2 separate regions of the Homo sapiens genome follow, and region 1 is linked to region 2. The links are contacts of gene promoters, found by promoter capture Hi-C in human tissues and cell types (Jung and others, 2019). All regions are on one chromosome and are shown on one strand. Each heading gives the region's core, a stretch centred on a gene start or on the middle of the fragment in contact. The rest is flanking DNA. Distances are from core to core; before and after follow the strand shown. Region 1 has its middle 40 kb from the start of LYZL1. Region 2 holds the start of C10orf126 (chromosome 10 open reading frame 126).

Evidence for each region. Contacts are between HindIII fragments. The study calls those that stand out against the background at their distance.
Region 1: a fragment that was not itself captured here is called in contact with the fragment with the promoter of C10orf126 in region 2 in 2 of the 25 tissues and cell types used here (H1 embryonic stem cells and mesenchymal stem cells).

The regions. Positions count from the first base shown.
Region 1 is chr10:29,325,985-29,332,183 of GRCh38, reverse strand. No RefSeq gene overlaps it. Among named protein-coding and RNA genes, the nearest start is that of LYZL1, 40 kb to the right of the region's middle. The HindIII fragment of the contact is 5,763 bases long and covers 331-6,093 here.
Region 2 is chr10:28,844,623-28,850,410 of GRCh38, reverse strand. C10orf126 (chromosome 10 open reading frame 126) reads right to left here and starts at 4,003. Exons shown (of 5, transcript NR_164114.1): 1 at 3,948-4,003; 2 at 3,148-3,292; 3 at 2,045-2,195. The HindIII fragment of the contact is 9,674 bases long and covers 1-5,788 here.

The sequences.
Region 1 (6,199 bases), core at 1,963-4,462, 480 kb before region 2:
AAGAGCACATACACTTAAAAATCACTCAGCTGAAACAGAACGGATTCAATGTTTTCCCCAAATAATGCCATGCTCCTTCCATGCAGCAGTGTGATTTCAGGCCTAGGGTAGAGAAGAGAAGACTTACAGGTTAGCAGGCTGAGAATACCACACCACCTCTACCCTGGCATGTGTGGGGTCTCAACAGTGAGGCGACTCATGAGTTCATTGGCCAGGAATTTCTCTGTGCAATAAAGGCTGAGAAATGCTGGCTTGTGGCATATGGCAACTAAGGTTGGGCCGGGTGACCTGTGTTGGTTTCAGGGCCTCTGCTGGTTGCCCTTCCACGGAAGACCTCCATATCCAGTCTGCCACATACCCAGCAAGCTAGGTTTAGGCATGGTGGCCTCACTTACTTACTTAATGATTAGTTTTTAAACACTGTGGTAGGGGCCAAGGATATAAGAGGGAAAAGTCCCAGTTCCTGCCTTTTGGAGCTGACCATCTACTATAGATCTGTGTGCTATAATGAATCACCAAAATTTTGGATCATGTGGGAATGTAGGTTATAGGAGGTAGCATTTCCATTTATAGATGACAATCAAAAGCCATTTATGACAGTATGAGTAGATACTTGAAATCATACTCTAGGTACCTCATACAAGTGAAATCATTCAGTATTTACCATTTTGTGACTGTCTTATTTCACTTAACGTAATATCCTCAAGTTTCATCCACGTCGTTGCGTGTGTCAGAAGGGGAAAGCCTTTCCTACAGCCTAATCATGAGGACACACCAGGCAAACCCAGAGGGAATGGCAGTCCCCAAAATATCTGGCCAATACTCTTCAAAAGTGTCAGGGTCCTGAAAAACAAGGAAACACAGAGAATCTGTCACAGATTAGGGGATACTAAAGAGACACAATGACTAAATCCAGTGGGGTATCCAGTGTGGTCCTGGAACAGAAAAAGGATTAGTGGAGAAACTGGTGAAACCCAAACTGAGTCTGTGGTTTATGAGTAGAGTTGTGCTTGGGATACTCCACGTTTTTTCCAAGGCAGCAGCTCTGCTGGTGATGTCAGACCCGTGCTTGGTCTTCAGGCCTCCTTGTAGTCTACTGCCCCCATCAGAGTAACAATGTGTCTCCGCCATGTGTTAAAACCAACTTCTTTGGTTTTCTCAGTCTGACCCCAGAGTAGGCCTTGTCCCTCTTCCTCTGGGGCCTTCCATCTTGTCCCACCTCAAAGGGGCTGGAGGGGGGCAACTGAGCCCAAAACTCCAAACCCAAAGGCTTAGCCATACTTGATGCGAGAAGGAAGGGGAAATTTCCTTCTTATTCTCTTTGATAATGAGAAGAAACACCAGATCAATTCTCCGTGACACTCATTAATCAATAGCAAAATCCATGGCTATTTTAAAATAACATTTAAAAATAGGCACAAATAATGTTGATGGAGGAAATACTGCCATCCCTTGTTGAGAGATCAGCTTTGAATGTCTTCTTCTCTCAGAAAAATCTTCACTCTCTCCAAAATTAGTATCATCCATTAGGATAGAGCTAGGAACTATAACTGAAAAAAAAAAAAAAACTGGAGCCAGTGTTCTAAACAAGTCTTCCATTTGTTCTTTATCTGAAGTCTAGGCTTTCCTGATGAACAGGCTAAGGTTTTGGTGTGTTATCTTTTCTGCCACTGGAAAAACCAGACAGGAATGAAATGTATGTTGAGTATTTATTGAACATCAGAAACTATGTTCATTTGTTCATATTCACATTTGTTTCTTTAATCCTAAGAATAATGCCATGAGTTAAGTATCTTACTTTACAGAGGAGTCAACTGCAGAGATTAAACTAATTTCCATCACACAGTTAGCAAGTGAATGAATCTAGAACTTGAAACCAAGTCTCTGATTCCGAAGTTCAGTGTTCATTCCATTAACCCATGGTGCTAACAGAGAGGAAGATATGGGACTTTCTTTTCACTTCATTGAATTATTTTATGTAAGGATGTGTGTATGTAGTGTTTGAGTGTTTGATAATTGACAAAACCTGGATGCTACAATAATAAGAGGGGAAGGAAGAGGGAGAAAGAGAAAGAAGAATATGGTGGAAAATACAGACAGGCATAGATACACACGCGCACTCCATGTTCCTTTGACCTCAGCCAGCCGGTGGGTGGAGGCATTGCAAAGAAGTGGGTCTTTTGAAAGACATTGACATTAGAAAGGTTGTCAACAAACCTTCTGACAGCTGTTTGCTAATTATTACTTCTAGGGGAAAAGTGTGAATGTAAGTTGTGTCTGAATGTTTTGTTGGAAAAAAATCTGGAATGCATAGTTCCATTCTCCTCTATAATCATAAATGGATTTTCTTGCAATTGTATTTTCTCTTGCTAATGAATAGTAAACAACACTGATTATAGGAGTTATCTAATTCTTGGTGCCCCCCTTGCTGTGGCCTCCCATCACTGCCAAATCCCCTTCTCTCTCTTCACACACACACACACACACACACACGCACACACACACACACACAGAGAGAGAGAGAGATCAACACATAAATCAGCAAGCCATGTTGACCCTTACGCAATGCCATGTGCTGTGAAAAGCACCGGGAATACAGTTCATACAATTAAGGGCCAATTATGTGCTTATTGGCTCTTGACCTAAGAGGAGACACAACGTCTTCAGGGCAGGAATTGTGTTAATGCTCTGTTGTTCTCAGGGGCCTCATAGAGAGCTCTGTTTCACTTGGGGAGAATTTAGAAAGCAGAGCGCCCTTAATATCTATTTCAAATAGAAGTAAATGCACTGAGTATAAAATTAACTTTCTCTCAAGTGGTGGTTACACAGCTAGGCAAGATTGGTTCAGAATAATGAGAGCCAATTGGCTTTGCAAAAATGGGAGGAGGTGGGGGAGACCAAAATGTGGGTGATGTTTGGGGCAGTAGATGGAAGGTGCTGCTGAGCTGCTGCAGAGATGACCTGGGGTAAGCAGTAGACCACGAGCATGCAGCTCACTCAGGAATGTGGGAAGTCATCCCAGGCATCTTCTCTGTTCTCATTTGGAAAGCACGCCAGGGCAATGGCAGTTGCCAGAGTTTTAGGTCATGACTGCTTCCATAAGAAATATTATGATTATCCATATTCCAAATTATCCTTCAGTACGAATGGTAGACATCAAACAAACCACCTCATTTTAAGGTGGAGTCACATAAGTTTCACAGCTGCTAACCAACTGTTTGAAGACTTTCAGGGATGGTTCCCTCTTTTTTTTTTTTTTTTTTGAAAAGAAGTCTCACTCTGTCACCCAGGCTGGAGGACAATGGCGCGATCTTGGCTCACTGCAACCTCTGCCTCCTAGGTTTAAGTGATTCTCCTGCCTCAGGCTCCTGAGTAAGTAGGATTAAAGGCATCTGCCATCATGCCTGGCTATTTTTTGTATTTTTGTAGAGACGGGGTTTCACCATGTTGATCAGGCTGGTCTTGAACTCCTGACCTCAGGTGATCTGCCTGCTTCGGCCTCCCAAAGTGCTGTGATCACAGGCGTGAGCCACTGTTCCCAGCTGTCTTTTTTAAAATATATTTTTTTTAAATAGAGAAGGAGATCTTGCTATGTTACCCAGTCTGGTCTTGAACTCTTGGCTTCAAGCAATCCTCCTGCTTCAACCTCCCAAAGTGTTGTGATTATAGATATGAGCCACTGACCCCCACCAGGGATGGTCCTCTCTTGATACTACCTCAGATCTTTGAGCTGAAGAATAAGAAAAGGAAGAGTGTGAGGAGGCGTGAAGAAGTGGATAGATGCTGGGCATCTTATCTCATCCCTGAGGTCCAGGGAAAAACAGGCTTCAAAGTCAAAAGGATACATGGATGCAAGTTCTGGTTCTGCCCTTTACCACCTGCAAGGTCTTTCCAAGCTTCCTGAATGTCTACAGCCTTAGACTCCTCCTATGTAGGGTGAGTTGTCTGAGAAATAAAGGTAATGTATGAAAGATTCCTGGTATAGTGAGTTCTTAGTTATATGTAGCTACTATTATTATTTTATAAATGTTTCAAACATTGATGTTGGTGGTCACTATAGCAATATCTCACCGCCTTAGGACTCTCAGAAGTTCCTGTAGCTCAGATGTCCCAACCCCCAATTACAGAAATGCTGGCATGGAGCAGGTCATTGGATAAAGACCTCAGTTTCTCCAGTTGCCTCTCCATAAGGGGAGGGCTGAGTATATACGTGGCCAATAAACGGCAACATCTATTACTAACCCAAAGAAGCAAACGATTCACATGACTGCATTGGAATGGAGGTTACAGAACTGAAATAGGAGAAAGCACAAGCAAATTTCTTATGCCCTCAGATTCAGCACGGAATATGCTGTCTCAACCCGCTTGTCCGTGGACAGCCTTGACTGTCTCCTGGGGAAGAATATGAAGAAGCTTTCCTTTAGAAGATGCCATCAGGGAAGACTGGACTAAATCAACAGTTGGAGAAATAATGATGTGTAAATCAGAGTGAGGCCATTTCACTGTGAGGTTCATGTTTGCTTTAGGATGCTTTGGACTTTGAAATGAGAAAGTTGACACACCATGGGGTGCTGTCTGTAAGGGTGGGAAACTACAGACTTCAGAGCGCCTGGGACCTGCAAATATTTGGCTTTATTTTTTTCAAAAATCAACTAGAAATAAACTTACACTGGTAAGTTCTAGCTTTAATTCCTTCACATACTTGTTCTGTTCCATTTTTATTACTGCCATTGCACTGGGTGCCCATTAAACGTAATGCATACACACACAACATCAACAACAATGACCAAAACTATTGCTTGTGCAGTTAATAGAAACCAAATTTCCCAGAAGCTTGCAACTCCACATGTCACATGTTTTGCTTTTTTCCCACTGATTTAAGAATCTCTCCCTAAGCTAATTTTCTTCTCCGTTCGCTCTACCCCAGGCCCCAAATGCCCATGGTCTAAAGGTCTTTTGTCAACCACACTCAAAGACTTCCATCTCCTTGAGGGTGAACTTGTCTGCCTGGTTTCATTACTTGCATGGCACTCCTCTCAGATGGGGACTTTGACCTTCTGAAATTCCTGTTGAAGATTAAATACCAAACCCAGCAGTCCACAGGAGAGTTAACAGACGGTTTCAGTACACACAGCAAGACTTCCAGAGTGGTCAAATTATTAATCCACGGGAAAATGCGGATCAGATGGTCAAACGCAGGACATAACTCACATAGGGAACCGGCTTTTGCACTGGGAGCCACTGAGTCCTAGGGATAGAGCCACGCTGCTCTGGGCTAACAGGAAATCCCAAGTTTGGGCTTTTTGTTTTTTCCAAAGCACATAAATGCAATTGATTCACTCTTTGTGGAACTCTTTGGAGCTTCAGTGCCACTCTAGATGGCTTCTCCTGGCCTCATCTAGAATATTTCTTTTTTGAAAGTCTTTTTGGAAGGCTGAGTTAGAACTGCTGTCTCTTCTCTCCTCCACTCTCTTTTGCCATTTCGCATTCCCATTTTAGGCTTTTCTAGTAGTTTAAAATATTACATGGTTGATGTATTAAGATAAAATTATGGAACCTACTTGGTCATGAGAAATATATCCCATAGCTATACTAGGTCTTTTGAAATTACCAAGTCAGCAGGTAGGAAAGTCAGGAATACAGTTGAGAAATGTGTGTCCTTCATTCAGCATGAACATTTGCTAACAAATGTTTTGTAACTGGGTAGAGACTCTAAGTGTGTAAACTTTCTGGAACATCTCCGAATTTGGTTCAGGATACTTTGCACAATTGTCTCTTGATCAATTCAGATTTCTTCCTTGGTCCCTTCTTTCTGTTGCTCGCCCTTTGGTTATTTGTTACTTACTCTCTGGTACAAGGAGGGAAGGGTCCCAGAGAGAAAGAAAAATACCCCTCCATATTCTTTCCAACATGTTTTCCAACTGTTCACATTTCCTCGGGAATGGGAGGCTAAAATTCTGGGTGAACTCTGTTTTGGGCTATGTATTGAGGTAGCATAGTACAATGGTCAAGAAGAGAGATTTAGTATCTGAAAGACCTGGAATTGAATTACTTGAACTAATGGACTAACCTTATTAGTTAATTAACTAGGTTAATCAACTAAACTTGTGCAAATTCATTAAACTCTCTGGGCTTTAGTTTTCTCATTTGTAAAATAGGATAAGATTAGTTTCATAGGATTGTTAAGAATATTCAGTTA
Region 2 (5,788 bases), core at 2,754-5,253:
CCATAGAAGGTGCTTAATCTAAATGTGAGACCAGTTTGGTTTTGTTGCCCAGAATGTAGTTGCTTCCGAAATACAAAAAGCAAATTCCATAACAAGCAAGAAACGTCTGTGTGCAATTCACAGAACCCCAGCCTAACTCTGGTTGAAGGAGGTAGGGTAGATGCTTACATTTAAAACAAAAATTTTGCATCTGTAATTAACTTAGATTTATCTTCAATGTAGTTTTCCTACTTAACTTCCAGAATATTTTAACTGTAAGAGCCCCTGCATTAAAATACTGTAATGAGAAAATCTGGTACTACTTTGTGAATCAACTTTTTAAATGTGCATAAACATTTCCATGTGTTAGCAAGCCTCTGCAAAGCCATTGACCGCACCCGACTGCCTTATCTGTGGCTAAACAGACTACAACCCAGCAGACCAGAGCATCATGTCAGTTGCATCCTAAGGAAAGCAGACAATGAGGTTGATTTAGAAGTGCAAGAGATTTGGGGTGGGGGGTAATATTTGTAAAAAGCGTAAGAGGAAATATCAAGATTGCCCAAGCATGGAAAGCCTTCAGATCACGATGCAGATTTGACACTTACAAAAGGAAAAAGGGTAGAAAACAAGATAGACAAGAGAGAGCCTCAGATTTTGGTGGGTCAGACACGGATTTGACCAACATGATGGGAAGCTCTGGAGCAAAGAGGATTCCTGTGTTGGACAGACACGGCCTTGGTACCACCATGGTGCCGGTATTGGCTGGGAGCTGCCCAGAAAAAGTGTGGTCTTGGTTGAAAAGCTGAAGCAGATCCTCCAGGTGCTGCAGCTGGAAGCTGTCGGCTGGCTACACTCCTTGAAGCTGCCAGGTAAGTCCTTTCTCCAGTGAAGATCTGAATCATTGCACACCTCAATGCCTACCTCCATCCATCCCTGCAGGGCATCCAGTAATCTTCAAAACATCTGGGAGTTTTTCCCCAGAGTAGAGTCACTTGAATAAATGTCTTTTGGGGAAGGACAAAAGGAATTATACCCATAGACTTGGTGTGGTGTTGCTGGGTCCTTCATCCTGGGAACATGGCCACCCTTTCTATTGGGGGATTCCAGGTCTGAAAACTGCCTCAGGTTCCAGGTACTAGACAAGGAATTGCAAATGTTTGATAGAGCAAACACCCTCAGCCTCCTGGGCATCCTTGTTGGATTTTTTTTTTTTTTAATACAAGGTCTCACTCTGTTTCCCAGGCTGGAGTGAAGTGGCACAACTTCAGCTCACTGCAACCTCTACCTTCTGGGTTCAAGTGATTCTCCTGCCTCAGCCTCCAAGTAGCTGGGACCACAGGTGCACACCATCGCATCCAGCTGATTTTTGTATTTTTAGTAGAGACAGGGTTTCACCATGTTGGCCAGGCTAGTCTTGAATTCCTGACCTCAAGTGATCCACCCACCTCGGCCTCCCAAAGTGCTGGGATTACAGGTGGGAGCCACTGCGCCTGGCCTGTGTTGGCTATCTTTTGATTAGATGTATTGAGAAGTATCCTCACAAGATTCCCATCTGTTTCACCCCATCATCACTACTCTCTGTGGATTCAACTCCACAACAGCCTTTCACACCACCAGTTGTGGTCTGCAGAGGAAAGCCTTCAGCTAATTTCCCAATGGCTTGGTGAATGCTGTGTTCTCCAGACCTCCCTGGGCATAATAATCCTCTGATGGGTCTTCTGATCGCCATAATATACCAGCATGTTCACTTCCCTGAGCCTTTAAAAATCTGTTTCAGCTCCGCTCAGCATGGACCTATCTCCAGGCTTGTTGAACCACCCAAGCAGCAAGTCTGCACCATCCTCTAGGGTCTTTGCCAAGCATTAAGTCCCATATCCTGAGAAAATGCCCTCACATTCCTGTATTCTCCTTTATCCTGCCTCCTTGATCAAGCGCCTTCAAAATCCAGTTCCTTCCTTCTAGTACATGGGGGTGAATTTTTCACAGTTTGAGGGAGGTACAGTCTCTTTCTAGCTCATCAGTGTTGCCATAATATTCTTGGCTTGGTGATGTTGCGACTTACCTCTAGTGATTGGTCTGGCAACCAGGCAAGAAGTTGAGGATCCTGAGAAGCCCTCCTTGGCCCGTGGGGACAGAACTCTGTGGTGTTGGCCCATATGGGTAGTTTCAGATCATAACAGGGAAGGATGAGCCACCTCTGCAGGCTCTGAGGGCTTAGAAGAGTTTGAGAGCTCAAAATATTTGGAGGCATCCACCCAAATGTCCCCATCCCGTGCACAAGAGCTCCATGTTTTCCCAACCAGTGCTCTGATCTTTGTGTAATGATAATCATCTTTGAAGCTAGGCAAGCCTATTAAATCCATAGTTTGGTCTTCTGCTTTTTCTACACTGAATGGAGTGAATATGGGCCCCATTCCTGGAGGCCCTCAGGCCTTCACAAGTGGCTTTCAATTGCTCCCTAACTGCCTACAGCTTTTCATTATCCTAATGTAGAGCCTCAATTCAATTGAGCAACAAGCAGCCAATTCCATTGTCCTTGGATACCTTGCTTCTCTCTGACCTCTCAAATGCCTGAATCCTCTCTCCATCCGGGGCTTTCCCGTCCACCAGAACATTCTTCCAAGTCACTGACATTGAACGTTTTAGGCAGGGCTCAGTGGCCCGTGCCTGTAATCCCAACACTTTGGGAGGACAAGGCAAGAGGATCACTAAAGGCCAGGAGTTCAAGACCAGCCTGAGCCTTGCTCTGTTGCCCAGGCTGGAGTGCAGTGGCATGATCATAGCTCACTGCAGCCTCGAGCTCCTGCGCTCAAGCAATCCTCCCGCCTCAACCTCCTGAGTAGTTGGGACTCCAGGCATGAGCCACCATGCCTGGCCGCAACATTCAGATGGATTTTTAAACTACCTGAGCTAAGTTAATTTCCTCATAGATTGGATGTGGATGTGAGAGCAAAAGAAGAGTCAAGGATGACCCAAGGGTTTGCTTTGAGCACATTCCTCAGTGCTTCCAGGGCATATGGCCTCTGAATGGTGCCCATGGGCTTATAAATCCATCTCCTCCCAAGAGATAACACATTTATTTTGTCCCTGGACCTTATGAAAGTTGTCAGAATCAAAATAGAATCACTAGTGTTTTTTAAGGAAAACAACAAACAAACAAAAAACCTGAACTGGATGCAGTGGTTCATGGCTGTAGTCGCAACTCAGGAAGCTGAGGCAGGAGGACTATTTGAGCTCAGGAGGTTGAGGCTGCAGTGAGCTATGATCACACCATTGCACTCCAGCCTGGGCGACAGAAAGAGGCCCATCTCTAAAAAACAAACATAAAAAGACTTCACTCTCATCACTCTTGAGATTAAGGATTTACCTAAGTAGTAAAATATGTCAGATCAGATTCTGGCCTCAGGAACTCTGAATCTGGGATGTGAAAAGGTTTCTGGAGAGGCATTCTGTTTCTCATATCATTAACCACAGGAAGATATTATTTGGTATACAAGAGGACATTGCTTAAAGAGGTGAGAAACAGAAACTATCTCTCCCTTATATTTCTCCAAATACCTTGTAAAGTTGTGAGTTAAAGAAAAAAGAATGATGTTCACTCAAAGGGGAGATGCAAAAATAAAAAGGTAAAACCTTTTCCCTTACCCTAAGGAGATAATGTGTGCATTTTAAAAAAGTTCTAATATTGTTTCTGCAAGTCAATATATAAGCATTATTGAAAAGTCCAATCTTGCCTGTGTTTTACAGCTCTCAGCTCCTTTCAGGAAGCAACTAAATCAGAAAACAGTGTTCTCTCTTCCTTGGAGCTGGCACAGGTTTTGATAACATCGATTGAATGCCAAGCGTAAGTACAGATTGGAAGTTAGAAGTATTGCTATTGACCGTTTTCTAATATGTCCTTCAGCTCAGTAATTAATCGATTTGTGACAAAATGAATAAGAAGCTGAGGTCTTCTAAGAGCTTACCATGTGGCAGACGCGAGCTCAGTGCTGTACATTCGCATTCATGCTCTTCATCCCTGTCTCTCAAGCCACTCGTCACACCCACACTCTCCGGGCCAGGAGGCTTGCACAACCTGCACTGGGAAACTTTCTCCCACCTGTTCTTGACTCCTGAAACCCCTCCACGGTGCCATCAGCCTGATCCACTAATAGCAAAACGCCTCACATCCCAAACTAACTTCCAAATAGTCCCTCCTTGTTCTGACAAAAACTGACTCTTCCCTGAGGACGATGCTCACATCTTCTCTCATGCGCTGGCTGTTTTTCTTTTTCTTTTTTTGAGATGGAGTCTCCCTCTGTAGCCAGGCTGGAGTGCAGTGGTGCGGTCTCAGCTCACTGCAACCTCCACCTCCCGGGTTCAAGTGGTTCTCCTACCTCAGCCTCCCAAGTAGCTGGGATTACAGGCACACACCACCACACCCAGCTAATTTTTGTATTTTTAGTGGAGACGGGGTTTCACCATGTTGACCAGGATGGTCTCAATCTCTTGACCTCGTGATCTGCCCGTCTCAGCCCCCCAAAGTGCTGGGATTACAGGCGTGAGCCACTGCGCCCAGCCACTGGCTGTTTTTCATTCCAGGCCCTCCTGCCACCTCCTGCAGACCTGGAGGTGATGGAGGGACCCTGCTGGTCCTCTTTTCCCCTTCCAGAACCTTCTCCTTCCCTTCTACTGCAAATCTCGTACCATCATCATCTATCACCCCTGAAACTGTCCCTAGAAACTTTATACAATTAATCAGAAGAGAAGGGAGGGAGAGAAACAAAAATAAGCCAAGCTTGCACATACTCAGTGTTAGTCATGGGGTCAGCTGTTCTCTGATCCTTCCTCATAGTGTTTTGCTACCTATTGCTCCAGAATCACACAGACCCTGTCACAAGATTAGAGTCCCCCTTCACTGCTCCACAGATAACAACTGAACATTGTGAAATGTTGCTTTCCATTTGAGATATTCTTGTAGGTCATGCATACTGATGAAACTACTGACGCCAGCTGGTCTGAAGGACCCCACGAGAAGCTGACTCACTGAAGAATGCAGTTTCTACATCCTGATGATTTCATCCCCCTTTCCCCAACCAATCAATGACTATAGTTTTTCAGCCCCTCACCCCCCATAATCCCCTTGAAAACCTCAGCCTAGAACTCTTCGGGGAGATGGATTTGAGGGTCTTCTCCCATCTGCTCACTCGGCCTCCCTGCTGTCATCAAACCCTCTCTCTGCTGCAAAGCCTGCTGTCTTGGTGTATTGGTCTGTTTCTGCACAACAGGCATACAAACATGTTGGTCCTGTAATACCCCTGCCCAACATTGTTCACCACCTTTTTCAACAACATCAGTTCTCAGCCCATTGGCATCCTCCCCAATACTTCTCCTCTCTTTTCTGAGCATGTTCAATGCATAGATAATAATCTTTCCAAAACTCCACCATCATAGGTCATTAAACTTCTCTCCTCCTTCAGGCATCTTGACCTCTACCCTCCTAGAAACAGTCACTCACTTTGATGGCAATACATGGATCTTGTCATGCACATTCATTGCAGTCCTTAGCCCCTTTTAACTTCTAATTACTCTGGGGCTCAGTCGTTGCTGTTGTTTTCATCTCTGTCTCTACTTACTCCGTTGGAGATCTCATGTGGTTCCATGGCTTTAAATACTACCCACACACTGATAACTCCCAAATGAATATCTCCAGTCCAGTCCTCTGTCCTGAACTCCAAACCTGCATATCCAATAGCGTACTCATCATTTTCACTTGAATATCTAAAATACTTCTCTAACTCACACGTCCACTACTAAACTGATTTTC